Linked DNA regions of Homo sapiens: region 1 is linked to region 2. Evidence: promoter capture Hi-C in 16 types of primary human blood cells and fetal thymus (Javierre and others, 2016). All regions are on one chromosome and are shown on one strand. Each heading gives the region's core, a stretch centred on a gene start or on the middle of the fragment in contact. The rest is flanking DNA. Distances are from core to core; before and after follow the strand shown.

Region 1 (6,756 bases), core at 2,619-5,118, 700 kb before region 2:
GTTTTAGTCATGAAGTCCCTGCCCATACCTATGTCCTGAATGGTATTGCCTAGGTTTTCTTCTAGGGTTTTTATGGTTTTAGGTCTTATGTTTAAGTCTTTTAATCCATCTTGAATTAATTTTTGTAAAAGGTGTAAGGAAGGGATCCAGTTTCAGCTTTCTACACATGGCTAGCCAGTTTTCCCAATACCACTTATTAAATAGGGAATCTTTTCCCCATTTCTTGTTTTTGTCAGGTTTGTCAAAGATCAGATGGTTGTAGATGCGTGGTGTTATTTCTGAGGCCTCTGTTCTGTTTCATTGGTCTATATATCTGATTTGGTACCAGTACCATGCTGTTTTGGTTACTGTATCTTTGTAGTATAGTTTGAAGTCAGGTAGCGTTATGCCTCCAGCTTTGTTCTTTTGGCTTAGGATTGTCTTGGCAATGCGGGCTCTTTTTTGGTTCCATATGAACTTTAGTTTTCTCCAATTCTGTGAAGAAAGTCATTGGTAGCTTGATGGGGATGGCATTGAATCTATAAATTACTTCAGGCAGTATGGCCATTTTCACGATATTGATTCTTCCTATCCATGAGCAAGGAATGTTTTTACATTTGTTTGTGTCCTCTTTTATTTCCTTGAGCAGTGCTTTGCAGTTCTCCTTGAAGAGGTCCTTCACATCCCTTGTAAGTTGGATTCCTAGGTATTTTATTCTCTTTGAAGCAATTGTGAATGGGAGTTCACTCATGTTTTGGCTCTCTGTCTGTTATTGGTGGAGAATAGGAATGCTTATGATTTTTGCACATTGATTTTGTATCCTGAGACTTTGCTGAAGTTGCTTATCAGCTTAAGAGTTTTGGGGCTGAGAAGATGGGGTTTTCTAAGTATACAATCTTGTCATCTGCAAACAGGGACAATTTGACTTCCTCTTTTCCTAATTGAATACCCTTTATTTCCTTCTCCTGCCTGATTGCCCTGGCCAGAACTTCCAATACAATGTTGAATAGGAGTGATGAGAGAGGGCATCCTTGTCTGGTGCCAGTTTTATAAGGGAATGCTTCCAGTTTTTGCCCATTCAGTATGATATTGGCTGTGGGTTTGTCATAAATAGCTCTTATTATTTTGAGATACCTTCCATCAATACCTAGTTTATTGAGAGTTTTTAGCTTGAAGGGGTGTTGAATTTTGTCAAAGGCCTTCTCTGCATCTATTGAGATAATCATGTGGTTTTTGTCGTTGGATCTGTTCATGTGATGGATTACGTTTATTGATTTGTGTATGTTGAACCAGCCTTGCATCCCAGGGATGAAGCTGACTTGATCATGGTGGGTAAGCTTTTTGATGTGCTGCTGGATTTGGATTGCCAGTATTTTATTGAGGATTTTCACATCAATGTTCATCAGGGATATTGGTCTAAAATTCTCTTTTTTTGTTGTGTTTCTGCCAGGCTTTGGTATCAGGATGATGCAGCCAGGACTATTTGATATGTTAATAATCCCTCACTTGTCTACGTGTAACCATCCCTGCTGCCTTTCTGCCAATCAGCTACACCACCAACAGAGCAATTATAATTTTTCTTGAAGGCAAAACCCCTTAAAGTTCTCTCTTGTCTAAAGAAGAGACTAAAAGCCATCTGTGATCTGATTCCCGTCCATTTTTGCAACATCAGTTACTATTATCCCCCAGCCTCCCCTCTCAGCTTACATTTTACAATAAGTACTTAGAGTTCTCAAAATGAAAAAAAAAAGGTTCGTTTTCCATACTAATATGACTTGGTATGCTGCAATGGTTTCTCTTTTTGGAATGCCTTTCTCCTGTCTCCACCCTCACATCTGTCTGGAAGACTGTTCCTCCTCTTTGAAGACTCAGTTTCAATCACCTCATTTTTTATAATATCTTCCCTGACATCCACCACAACCCCAAGCAGACTGGATCACACCCATCTTCACACCATTACTGCACCCTGTGCATATGGCTATCGGAGGACTGAGCACTCTGTAACGTACTCAATTTTGTGAATCTCTGTTCCTACCAGAGAGAGAGAAACTTGAGTTTTTTTACCCTTGATAGTCTGGGCAGTGCCTGGCACATGGTAGTTGTTCAATGTATGTTTACCAAAGAAAAAGAATCAACAATCAAAACCACTAGAACAGGTCTTTGTCCTCCTAGACACATATCATCCTATAATACCACAGTTCTTGATTTTTGTAATGCAAGTATTAGATGGGAACTCTTAAAATGACACTGAGAACTTTAGGCTTCTTCTGCTGGTCTACTTCAAAGTGGTAGAACGTTCAACTTTCTCCAGAGCTCCAGTTTTCATATCCAGTCTATTCAATATTTCCTACTTGATGGGTTGCCCTCAGCTTAAACTCAATGTAATCTAACAAAATTGTTACAAATTGATTATGTCTCCTGCAAATTTAGATGTTAACACTCTAATCCCTCATGTATTTAGATGTGAGTCCTATGAGAGGTGATTTGGTCATGAAGGTGGAACTCTAATAAATGGAATTAGTGTCATTATAAGAAGAGACACAGGGAGACAATCTCTTTTTCCACCATGTGAAGACACATTGAGAAGGTGGCTGTCTGCAAACCACGAAGAGGACACTCAACAGGAATCAAATCCACCAGTACCTTGATCTTGGACTTCCCAGCCTCCAGAACTGTGAGAAACCAAAGTCTGTTGTTTAAGCCACATAGTTTATGGTATTCTGTTTTAGCAGCCTCAAGTAAGACACTAATCCTCCTTCATTCCAAAATACTAAACCCCACAAAAAGCTTCTCCTAATTCCACTATTTCTTTTCATGGTTCAGCATTTTCCAAGTCACTCAAAAGCCAAAACTGAGAGCTGCCTCAGCCTTCTCCCTCTGTCTTGCTTCCCATAACCAACACCAAACGTAGCACCTCTTTTCCATTCCCAATTCCACTGCCCTTGCTCAGGACTCTTTTACTTTGTTCCTGGATTTCTATAATCATCTTTTAACTCATATTCTTAGAATAAGCATTTAATTTAAAAAAAATTAATCATTCAATACATAGGCACACATTATAAAAATATGAAGTATATAATATGGACAATTATAGTCCCCCTTATGACTTAAGTCTCACTCCTGGCCCAGAAAATAATTTTCCAAGTTTAATATGCATCTGAACAATAGAAACACTCAAGTGCCTACTATGTGCCAGGCGCTATTTAAAGCAATTTAAATAGATTAATTTATTTAATTTTCACATCATACCACCCTAGGGGTCATGTAAAATTATCTCTATTTTCCACACAATGAAAAAAAATGCTGAGGCGGTTAAGTATCTTGCCTGAAGTCACACAGCCAGTAAGTAACTATTCATTTACTTAAACACATATTTATATGCATATAAGATTTTACATACACATATGTATATGTTTTATGCTTTTTTCCCATTTTACACAAAAGGGATAGCAGTATGTGTATTTTCTTTGTATTTTCACTGAACAACATACCTTCTGTATCTTTCTATGTTGGTAGATATAAATTTACCTCATTCTTTTTAACTGCAATGTGTTATTACAAAGTATGATATAGCATAATCTATTTATCCAATTCACTATTGATGAATATTTATGTTGTCTTCAATTTTTCACTACTGGAAAAAAATGATGTGATGCATATCTCTGCACATAAATCAGAGCACTCATGTGTGAACAGATCTATAGCATAATTTGTAGAAATAGCACTGCTGGTATTTCTATTTTTAATTCTGATGCATTCTGCCAAAATATCTCCAAAAAGGCTGTGCCAATTTACATCCTCCCTAACAATATATAAAGGTGCCTATTTCCCTAAGCACTTGCCAACACTGAGTATTATCCATCATTTTAATTTTTTAACAATCTGATGGGTTCTTTGATGCTTTTTAACAGTCTAGGATCTCTTTGGTGCTATAACTTGTATTTCTCAAAATCCAAATGCCGTTGATCATCTTTTCAAATGTTTATTAGACAACTGTATTTTTTTTCTGAGAATTCATACTCATATCCTTTGCCCAATTTTCTCTTGGACTGTTTGTCTTTTTTATGTTTATTTGCTGACTATTTTGCATGTTAGCAATTTTGATACTTTGGCATATATATTGCAAATAAAATCTTCCCAGTCTGTGACTTACTTTTACATTTTGTCTATGGGTCTGCAATTATATCAGTTTTAAAAATTATGCAGTAAATCTTATCGGTCCTTTCCTTTATCGACTCTAGGTGTTGTGTCTTGCTTAGGAAGGTCTTTCCCACTCTAAGATTAAGTATATTTTTCGACAGTTTTTGCAAACATTTTTAGTGTTGTTTGGTTTATAAAATTTAGCACAAGTCCACCTGAAATATATTGTCGTATATGGCATAAGGAAAGGCTAAACCTATCCCATACCAACTGACAAACAGATAACCAATTATTCTAATGTCTTTAAACAGTACAACCCTCTAGTCACTGATTAGAAGTGTAGTATATAATGAAGGTAGCACTCTTCATACACTAAATTTCCAAGTTGGTTTGTAACTACACTCTCTCTTCTGCTCCATGGTTCTATTTATGTATTCCTGTGCCAAGATTTCATGTTTTAATTGCTATAATTTTAAAGTTGCTTAGGATAGCTAGAAAATCATCCTCCCCCTTAGCCCCATGTGTTTAAAAAATTATGGCTATTTACTCTTGACTTTATCTTCCAAGGGAATGTTAGAATAGGCTAGTCAAGTTCCATAAAATATCTTATTGGAATTTAGCATAGTATTGCATCAAATTTATAAATTAAAAATTACCATCTTTACCACAATGAATCTTAGAATTAATATTTAAATACCAATTCAACAACATAACGTCCTGCTACAATTTTTTTTCCAACTGACATTGGGATAAAGATAAAGCTCTTCAGTGTCTAGTTTTCAAATCCCACCTCCCAAATTTGGTTTAAACTAGCCATCTCATCAAATTGATTTCCCTTATTTTTCATCCACAAAGCTTTTCAAACCAGTATACTGATTCTATCCTAAATAATCCTTCATTCCCTGTGCTAGAGATGCCATGCAATTAGGAAAGGGATAAAGCAGTTATATTCTTTGTCTACACATCCTCACTTTGAAGTGCTAACATTCTGGGTCTATCCAAGATCCATCATTACCCTTTAACAAGGCAAGAATAGGTATACTTTTCCTTATTAACTTAAACAGATTTGAGTTTGCAGGGGGAAAAATAGAGCTTTTTATGATTAAATAATCTACGACAATACAGTCATCCCTCAGTATCTGCTGGGGATTGGCTGCAGGACGCCCACACCCTTGCCACAGGATACCAAAATCTGCACATACTCAAGATCTACAATTGACCCTGTGAAAACAGCGGAACCAGCAGAACCAGGAAACTGGCATATAGAAAAAGTCTGCCCTCCCTATCTGCAGTTTGCCCATCCGGAGAATATTGTTTGGTTGCAGATATGGAGCCTGGAGATACAGAGGGCAAACTGTATTTATTGAAAAAAAAATCCATGTATAAGTGGATCCACACAGTTCAAATCCATGTTGTTCAAGGGTCAACTTGTTTTTTCGTCATTCATGGGAAAGAGAACTTGGTGTTGAGCAAGGAAACAGATAATGTGATCTGAAGCTTGAGGAGACCTCACTGGGTCCAAACTCTCAACATGCAGGAAAGAATTCATGCAGTCTTTGACAGATCGGTAAATATTAAAAAGAAGTGAGAAAAGGTTAGAAGAACTGAGATAACACTACCTGAGAAGAGAAGACTAAAATTAAACTGAAAAATGTTTCAAGTGTGTGTTAAAACTTGGAGGAGGTGGGAGTTGGGTCTGCCAAGAAGTCTGGGAGAGGCTGCATTACAGCAAAGTCACCACACTGAGGGAGCAGAGGATCAGGAATGACAAAGGGTCAGGGTGGCCACACGAGGGTAGCAGAGAGCAGGTTAACAGAGAGACCTTGGCGAAAGTGAAAAAAGTTATTGGAACTGAAAATCTAGATCCAAGCAGTGCTTTATACTCGGACAGTGAACACAGGGCAAGATTCTATGGTACACTCAGAGAAACAGAGGAACATCTCCCTGCTCTAGGGTGAAGAGGTCACAGAGAAAGGTAACTAACAAACATGTATTGGGTTCTATGCTAGGAGTTTTACATAAATGTCCTCATTTAATAATCTTTATAAGCCTACAAGATAGACAATAACAATGTCTGATGTTTAACACATGAAAAGACTGATCTCAAATGACATAAGTGGCACAGCTGGTATTTAAGCCCAGATGAGTCCACTTTCTAAATCCAGGCTTTCTCACTCTCCTGCACTCTTCTGCCTTTCCAATGAGTCAGAAGTGTCTCCTTGGAGCTGGGCCCAGAACCTGGTTAACTTTCTCAAAGCAGCACACACAGTCGTTCCTAGGCCTTCACAGTCCACATGAAAAAAAGCTATGGCCTTTTGTGAACATGGTGAGAACACCAAATGTATCTGCATCCATTCTTGGCTTAGCCACAAGGAATAGCAGCAGCAGTCATCAGCCTGACAGGTATGGGCACACAGGCACAGCGGTCCACAAGGAAGCCCTGGGACTGGAAACTGGTGGCAAACCTCAACAGATGTCACCTTGCTAGGGCATACTACTTTCAGTAATAGCAAGCTCTGGGATTTTAGGGTTTAAAAAGATTTTAAGACCAAAATGCACCACAAGAAACAGATTAAAAATAATCTGAAAAGAAACAGGTTAAAAATAAAGAACAGTAAAAAACATACAAGAGGGCAT
Region 2 (6,652 bases), core at 207-2,706:
TCTCCAAGGAAGAGGACAGTGGTGATTCTTTGCCCCCCAAAAGCACCAGAAACTGGCCATGCTTTACGGGGTGTCATCTCAATAGTGGTGCCTACTCTCTGCTTGCAAATTCTTTCTGAATCTTCAAGGTGCTTCCAGAACTCCTGATCTTCCCTCTGGAGGTAAGGGAGGGGAGAAAAGGCGGCTCCAGCTGAGGGTATTGATGCGTTAATGCAGCCAGTGCTGAGTTGTCCTCACACACCCATTGACACACCACACAGGGGGAAGTCCGGGTCCCCACAGCACAGCTGGAGCCTCCCGAGTGGACTCTGCCAGCCCTGCTCTCATCAGACAGAGAAGGGCTGCAGCTATCCTGCCGGAAATGTCATCATTCCCATGCAGGTGCACGCACCCACACACTCACATACACATTCACGCTCACACAAAGGCTGAAAATGTCACCCCGCCTTCCCAAATTCCTCCTTCATGCCCCTTCATCCCAAATCCAGACTGCAAGAGGGACTCGGAGCCCTTTCCAGTGATGTTGGCATAGAATGCCCCTTGGTGGAACTTGCCCCAACCTGGGCAGGAAGCCACAATGTCCAAACTTGAGCCCTGCCCTGTGGACCTGTCCTGGTGGGGTGAGAAGTCTCTGGAGTTGCCATCCCCACCACCCTCAGGCCTCATCCTAGAGTGGGGCACTGCCCTGTCATAGCACAGGGGGCCCAAGGCTGAGGTCTCAGGCCTGAGCTGTCACTGGCCATGATGGAAGAAACCACTCAGACTTACACCAGACTTAGTCTCTTGCCCTTTCAAGGCAAGTGACTTCCCTGCCCCTTGGCCCTGGCCTTGGGAGAGAAGGAGTAGCGTTGGGAATAGCACACAGTCTGATGAAAATTGATCCTTCCCAAGCTCCTCCTGAGCCCTCACCCAATGCCCGTGCTTACCCCTCTCCTACCCCACCTCCAGCTCCTGCAGAGCAATCAATCCCTCTCCTCCTAGTCACGGCATGAGCTTGCAGGGCACCTGCACACATGTGTGAGCCCGACAGGGGACATATAAAGATCCACTCAAAGACCTCTGCACTACAGACACACACCCTGAACATCAGGCACAGGGTCTCCTGGGGAAAGGTCCCCTGGTAATACCCACACCCGGCTGCAGCAGGGCAAGGGTGGGCAGCACCCTGCCAGGCAACTCAGGCAGCCCCAGGCTCCACTGTGAGCCCTTGCTGCCCCTTTCCTTCCCACCTAGCCTCATGCTGGCTACCCTGCCCCCTGCCCAGCCCCGTACCTGGGCTCAGGCACACGAGTAGAAGGTGGAATGCTCCTCCAACTCTCATGTCTCTAGGCTCGGTGTTTCCTCCGTCTGGGCTGGGTATCCCGTGGGGTCGTAGTGGTGGGTGTGAGGGGGTAGGTGGAGGGAGGGGGAGCTGAGGGCCCAGACACTGCCTGGGGTGGCAGGAAGGTGCAATGAGTGCCCAGCTGGGGAGCAGCTGGAGTTATTTCTATGGGAGGGAGGGGGCCTGGTCCCCGCCTTGGGGAGGAGTCCCAGGAACCCTAATTAGCAGGGTGACAGGGTGGCCTACCTGGGCATTACCCAGCCCTCACCCAAGCTCTTCCCTGTCCTAAGAGTGGCACAGGACAGCCAGCGGGACTTGTAATTAGGCACCTGTTAAACTTCACTTCCTCCTGGCCACATCCTCAGGGTGACAACAGTCACCTCATTTACAGCTTCCAAGGGCTCCCCTCACCACTCATTTGCTGCCTCCTTCCCTGGGGGAAGTGGGGAAGAGGAAGGAGAAGCCAGGCTTGGGAGAAAGAGTGGCCAGGACCTGAAGAGTTAATCCTGATCCCAGGGCATAGGGTTCCCCAGGAGTGTCCAGCCCACCTTCCCCCAGGCTTCAGGCCTTTCAAAGGGACTCAGGCCTCCTGAGCTGAAAGAGGAGAGAAGGGGTGTGTGCAGGAACAGAGTCTCCTCCTGGCTGTCCCCTCTGGAACTGTCCTCCACACCCATACTCGACTCAAGGCCATCCCCAAGTGTAGGGGACCCCTGGGAGCAGGGGTGCTATGGGGGGTCCAGGGTGTGTGCTAGGAGTAAGGTGACTGATGGGCTAGTGAGGGAGTGTTGGAGAGAACAGCGCCAAGAGGACCAGGGAAGGGGGTGCCTGTGTAAGCGTGTGCACCCCTCAGCAATGTCTGTGGGAGGGAGGCAGGATGTCTGTGTCAGGGTGTCTCTGTGAGGATGGCTAAGCCCCTCTGAGTGAACTTCTTGAGGGATCGCTTGGTGTCCTGGCTTCTCTGCCCAGAAAGAGTAGCCAGGTCTTGAGGGTTAATGCAGTCCCAGTATTAACTGGGTCCTTGAGACCAAGGACCCTCATAACCTGGACTGGTCATCGGGCTGACTAAACCAGCACAGTTCTGGGTAAGTTCGTGCTGGGGTGGGGAGGGTCCTGGTAGGCATGGGGAGCAAGTGAAGGGCCACCCCTTGTTGGCTTGTCTAAGGGGGACAGAATGGGCATGTGCCTTGTTGGACTCCATGGTGGGAGTCAGGACATGAGTGACCCCATTCAATAGCTCAACTCCCTCAAAGGAGTCAGGGACTGCCCCCATCCCTACCATGGGGCACAGAAAGGGCAGAGGAGGAAGAGTGTTAGGGAGAGTTATGGGGCTCAGGGATGCTGCCAGGGCCCACCCCTCTGGGGAAAAATAAGTCAGAACATTAAGGAAACACAAGGAGTCCACGCGTCTCTGCATTCCAAGCCGTTGCACCTGAACTCCCAACAATAACAGGGCGCTCTGAGACCTACCAGATGTACACAATGAATATCTTTATTTCCTTATTTATTTTTAGGTTTATGGGATTGTCCTGCTCCCTTTGAAGAGCAGGGATCATTATCCCCATTTTACAGATGGGGAAACAGAGACCTGGAGAAACATGGGGATTCAGCCAATGCGGCTGGTGCCTAAGCTGGGATACCCAGGTACCCAGGGTGTCAGTCCAGAGAGGTCCAAAAAATGGTCTTGGTGATCCTGTGGATTACTAGACCCACTCACGAACAAGAACCATGGAAGGTCAGGGTGAGTGGGAGGGAAAACAGGTCAGACCACGAACAGAGAGATTGAGGAGAAAGCAGTAACATTGTGGTTCCACTAAACTACAGTGCAGGCTTCAGATTTAATTGGGTTCTGGATGTGGGCTAATGTTAGAGCTGGGGTTAAGTTTGGGGTTAGTTGAATTATGAATGAGGTTGAGGTCAGATTTGAGGTTGGGATTAGAGTTAAGGTTGGGATTAGGGTTAGAAATACAGCTAGAATTGAGGCTCAGGTTTATGGCTGGGATTTGTGTTACGATAAGGAATAGAGTTTTAGTTTCATTTACAGCTCTGCCTGGGAATACAGTTAGGGCTAAATCAAAGGCTGGGTTTAGATTGATTTAGCATTGGGTTAGAACTAAGTTTGAGATTCACATTGAAATAGGCTGTGGTTAGGGTTGGAACATGGTTTAAAGACACGTAAGCAGCGGGAGTTGATGGGGATCAAAGATGAGGTTTTATTTCTAATATAGAAAGACTTCAGCCTCCATCTGCTAAATCCAGGTTTGGCTAGAATTTTCAATCCTTAGTGCGGGGAGACTACTAATGGCACATGTTGATTGGGGTCCCAAGACTTGGAGGAGGAAGCCAAATGTACACGAGCCCATCTAAGGGGTATGAGGCAACTAAATCCCATAGAGAATGGACCCTCTGAAGTCCTGCTCCACTACTAAAGCTCACCACCTGGCCAAGCTCCAGAAAAACATCTGGGGAGGAGACGCAGGAAGCTACTGACAATGAGTTGGGCTCTGACACCAAACCGAACTAGAAGATGGGGTCCATCAGAGGGAGTCTTACTGAGTGGGGAGGAGGGGTGGTCTGGATTTGGAGTCCTTAGGAGATGGGAGTTGGGAGAAACTGAGGGCCTACATGCTCCTAGAACAGCCACTTTATGGGGCACCACATGGGGGTCTTTCAAAGCCTGAAAGGGCAGAGTGCCATTGTTGTTTCCCCTTGACCCTCTGAGGCTTAATTGCTACCTTCTTGCAATTTGAGTCCTATAAAAGAAGCTGTCAGCCTTCCAGCCCTAAACCCTGAGCCCTGCAGGGTTTTCAGGGAGGGCAGCAGTGGGGAGGCTGTGGATGGGGTGAAGGCACTGGGGTGTCAGCATAGTTTCCAAAGCATATGTCACAGTCCTACAGTCCCCTCCCTCTGGGCCCAGCTCACAGTCCGTGTAAGTCTCTGGGCCTTATCCTCAGCAGTGGAAGAGGGCCCCACTCCTAGGAAGACCCCGTCCCAATTCCTCCCTCTCATTTTTCCCCAACCAGTCTCCAGCCCAAACATCTCATTTCCCCACCCACTTCCTTTTCAGGTTTTATAAAGGTCTGGTCCAGGAGACTACTGGGGTTCCCCCTGTGACCCCAGAGAGAGAGAAGAAAGAGATTGGGAGAGATAGTGATGAGTTAAGGGGCAAAGACAGAGACAGGGACAGAGGCAGACAGAAAGACACATGGTCTAAATGGCCCCTCCAGAGACTCAGAGGGATACAGAGGAGGCAGAGGGCCCAGGCCACGAGCTGGGAACCAATACAAATTTCCAAAAGGGCCCCTTGCTTTTTCCTAAGAAATCCATGACTCTCCAGGGAAGAATGGCCCTGCTTTGACTGGTATTTGCTTCTATTCTAAGACAGTAACAGAAAATCAAAGACTGGCTTAGAAAGGAGTAAACAGGGAGATACAGGAGGTAGGAAGAGGCTGGACAAAAACTCAGAGAAGGCCACAGATTGCTTACCAGATGAAGTGCAGCCCAGCCCCAGAACCTTTCTGGGAAGGACGGACAGAGGGCTTGGGCTGCCTACTCTTCCTCCAAAGCCTATTCTTCCTCCAAAGTCCCTTTCATGGCAACTCCACCCCACTCCTCTAAGCCCTGCCCTCCCCTGCCTGTACTTGCCCACCCCAACCCCTCTCAGTGGCCGCCAGACTCCCTGGGCTCAGGCTCAATCAAGCTCCCCACAACCCCTGCCTTGGCTGGCACTGCAATTTGACTCATTCTAAACTCCTCCCCACACAGTCAGCAAGCTCCTCAGCCCCCTCTCCCAAGTCCCCATGTAGCCCAGGGCTCACCCTGCAGCACCCAGGGAGGAGCTGTCCTGCAGAGGAAACCTCTGAGGTAAGACTCTGGGAGCAGAAGCTGTGAGTGACAATGGATAGGCAAAGAGTCACAGAGAAGCCAAGGAGCCTTGCAGCTGCTGTCTGTCCACCCAGCTTTCAGTGATGATTTGGAGGTGGAGGTCTGCCAGGTGAGGCCATGGTTGCATGAGAAGGGCAGGGGGCTCAGAGGTTGCATGGGTGGTGATGGGACAACGTCGGATTCTGGTTACAGAGAGGGATGAGATCGACATGTGGGGCTAAGTTTGAGGGTGTGGGTTGGGTTCGAAACTAAGGCTCAAATCAAAGCTGGCAGGGAAGAGCCGTGAACACAGGTGACACAGGGACTCCCCAAGCTCCTGCTTAGGTTTCCCAAACCTCAGTGGTTCTGACTGGTACACTTCAGAAGAAGTGGGATTCTAGGAGGAGCCTGGATATGCCCACATCTCTCCCATCAAGCAATGTCCTGAAGCTGACAGACTCAGAAGAGCAAGCAGCACACACATAGTCCCCATCAATTAAAGGAGTGGCTGGAGTTGTCACTACATCAACAAAGCACAAGAGCAAAGGGAGGCGATTGAATGCCACCAACTGAATTGTTAGCAAGAGAATGAGTGGAGGCGAGAAGAAATCGCTTGTAAAGGCTATGTGATTCCCTGATGACAGATCTGAGGAAGAATGAAGAGGCTTTGAAGATAAAGGTATCTTCACCTCGCCAAGATCAACCACATCCTGCAGAACCTTCATTCATTCAGCAAACAGCCAGGCTTTGTGCTAGGCCCTGGGGAAATGGCAATTAAGGAGACTCAGTCCCTATCCTCACAGAACACCCCATCTGACACGGAAATAGCTCCTGGCCCGCAATGTGGTAAGATGCAGTAATACGTGCAAGGCCCCTGACTTAGTGGCAATGATGTTTAAGCCGAGATCTGAAGGATAACTAACAACGGCGTGCCAGAGAAAAGAGTAGCGGGTGGAGAGAGGAGGCCAGGGGAATATTTCTGGGCTTGGTAAGTAAGCCAGGTCCCTGCCAGACATGGACTGAGAAGAGCAAAGCCAGGAGTGACAGCTGACGATTATTTTTTAACTGAGGAAGGAAGATCCTTGAGAACGGAACCTCTTGGGACCTTCTACCCAGAACACCAGAGCACCTCACTGGGATCAGAGCCAGGCCATCGGGTGGATTAAGCAACTAAAATTGATTGTCCTGAACCATGAGTCTGTCTGTTTATGGGGAGAGAAACTTTGAGATGAATTAATCCACAGGTCCAATGGGACTTTGACATTTTAATTTGTAGAAATAAAACTTGCCTTTGATTTTGCCATCTGGATTCCCCAAACACGTATCTACAGAGTGGAACTGTGGTGCCCCTTGACCTGCAGGGTGGCCCCAGGCCTGCCTTGCCCCGCTGGCAGTTGCCCAGGAAGGTGTGTAGGAGCTGGCAGGCGTCAGTACGAAGCTGCAGCTGGTGTGTGTCTCGTTCAGAGCCTT

Evidence for each region. The method cuts DNA at HindIII sites, captures the fragments that hold promoters and counts their contacts. A CHiCAGO score of 5 or more calls a contact.
Region 1: a contact is called between a fragment that was not itself captured here and the fragment with the promoter of VSIG8 in region 2, in 6 of 17 cell types (M2 macrophages, endothelial precursors, total CD8 T cells and 3 more). The highest score is 7.7, in M2 macrophages.

What each region holds. Positions count from the first base shown.
Region 1 is chr1:159,155,298-159,162,053 of GRCh38, forward strand. No RefSeq gene overlaps it. Among named protein-coding and RNA genes, the nearest start is that of CADM3, 13 kb to the right of the region's middle. The HindIII fragment of the contact is 2,208 bases long and covers 2,765-4,972 here.
Region 2 is chr1:159,861,201-159,867,852 of GRCh38, forward strand. It overlaps VSIG8 (V-set and immunoglobulin domain containing 8), which reads right to left and starts at 1,457. Exons shown (of 7, transcript NM_001013661.1): 1 at 1,273-1,457. The coding sequence starts at 1,321. LOC107985216 (a long non-coding RNA gene) reads left to right here. Exons shown (of 2, transcript XR_001738263.2): 2 at 1-6,485. RefSeq lists enhancers at 1-872, 873-1,785. The HindIII fragment of the contact is 16,901 bases long and covers 1-6,652 here.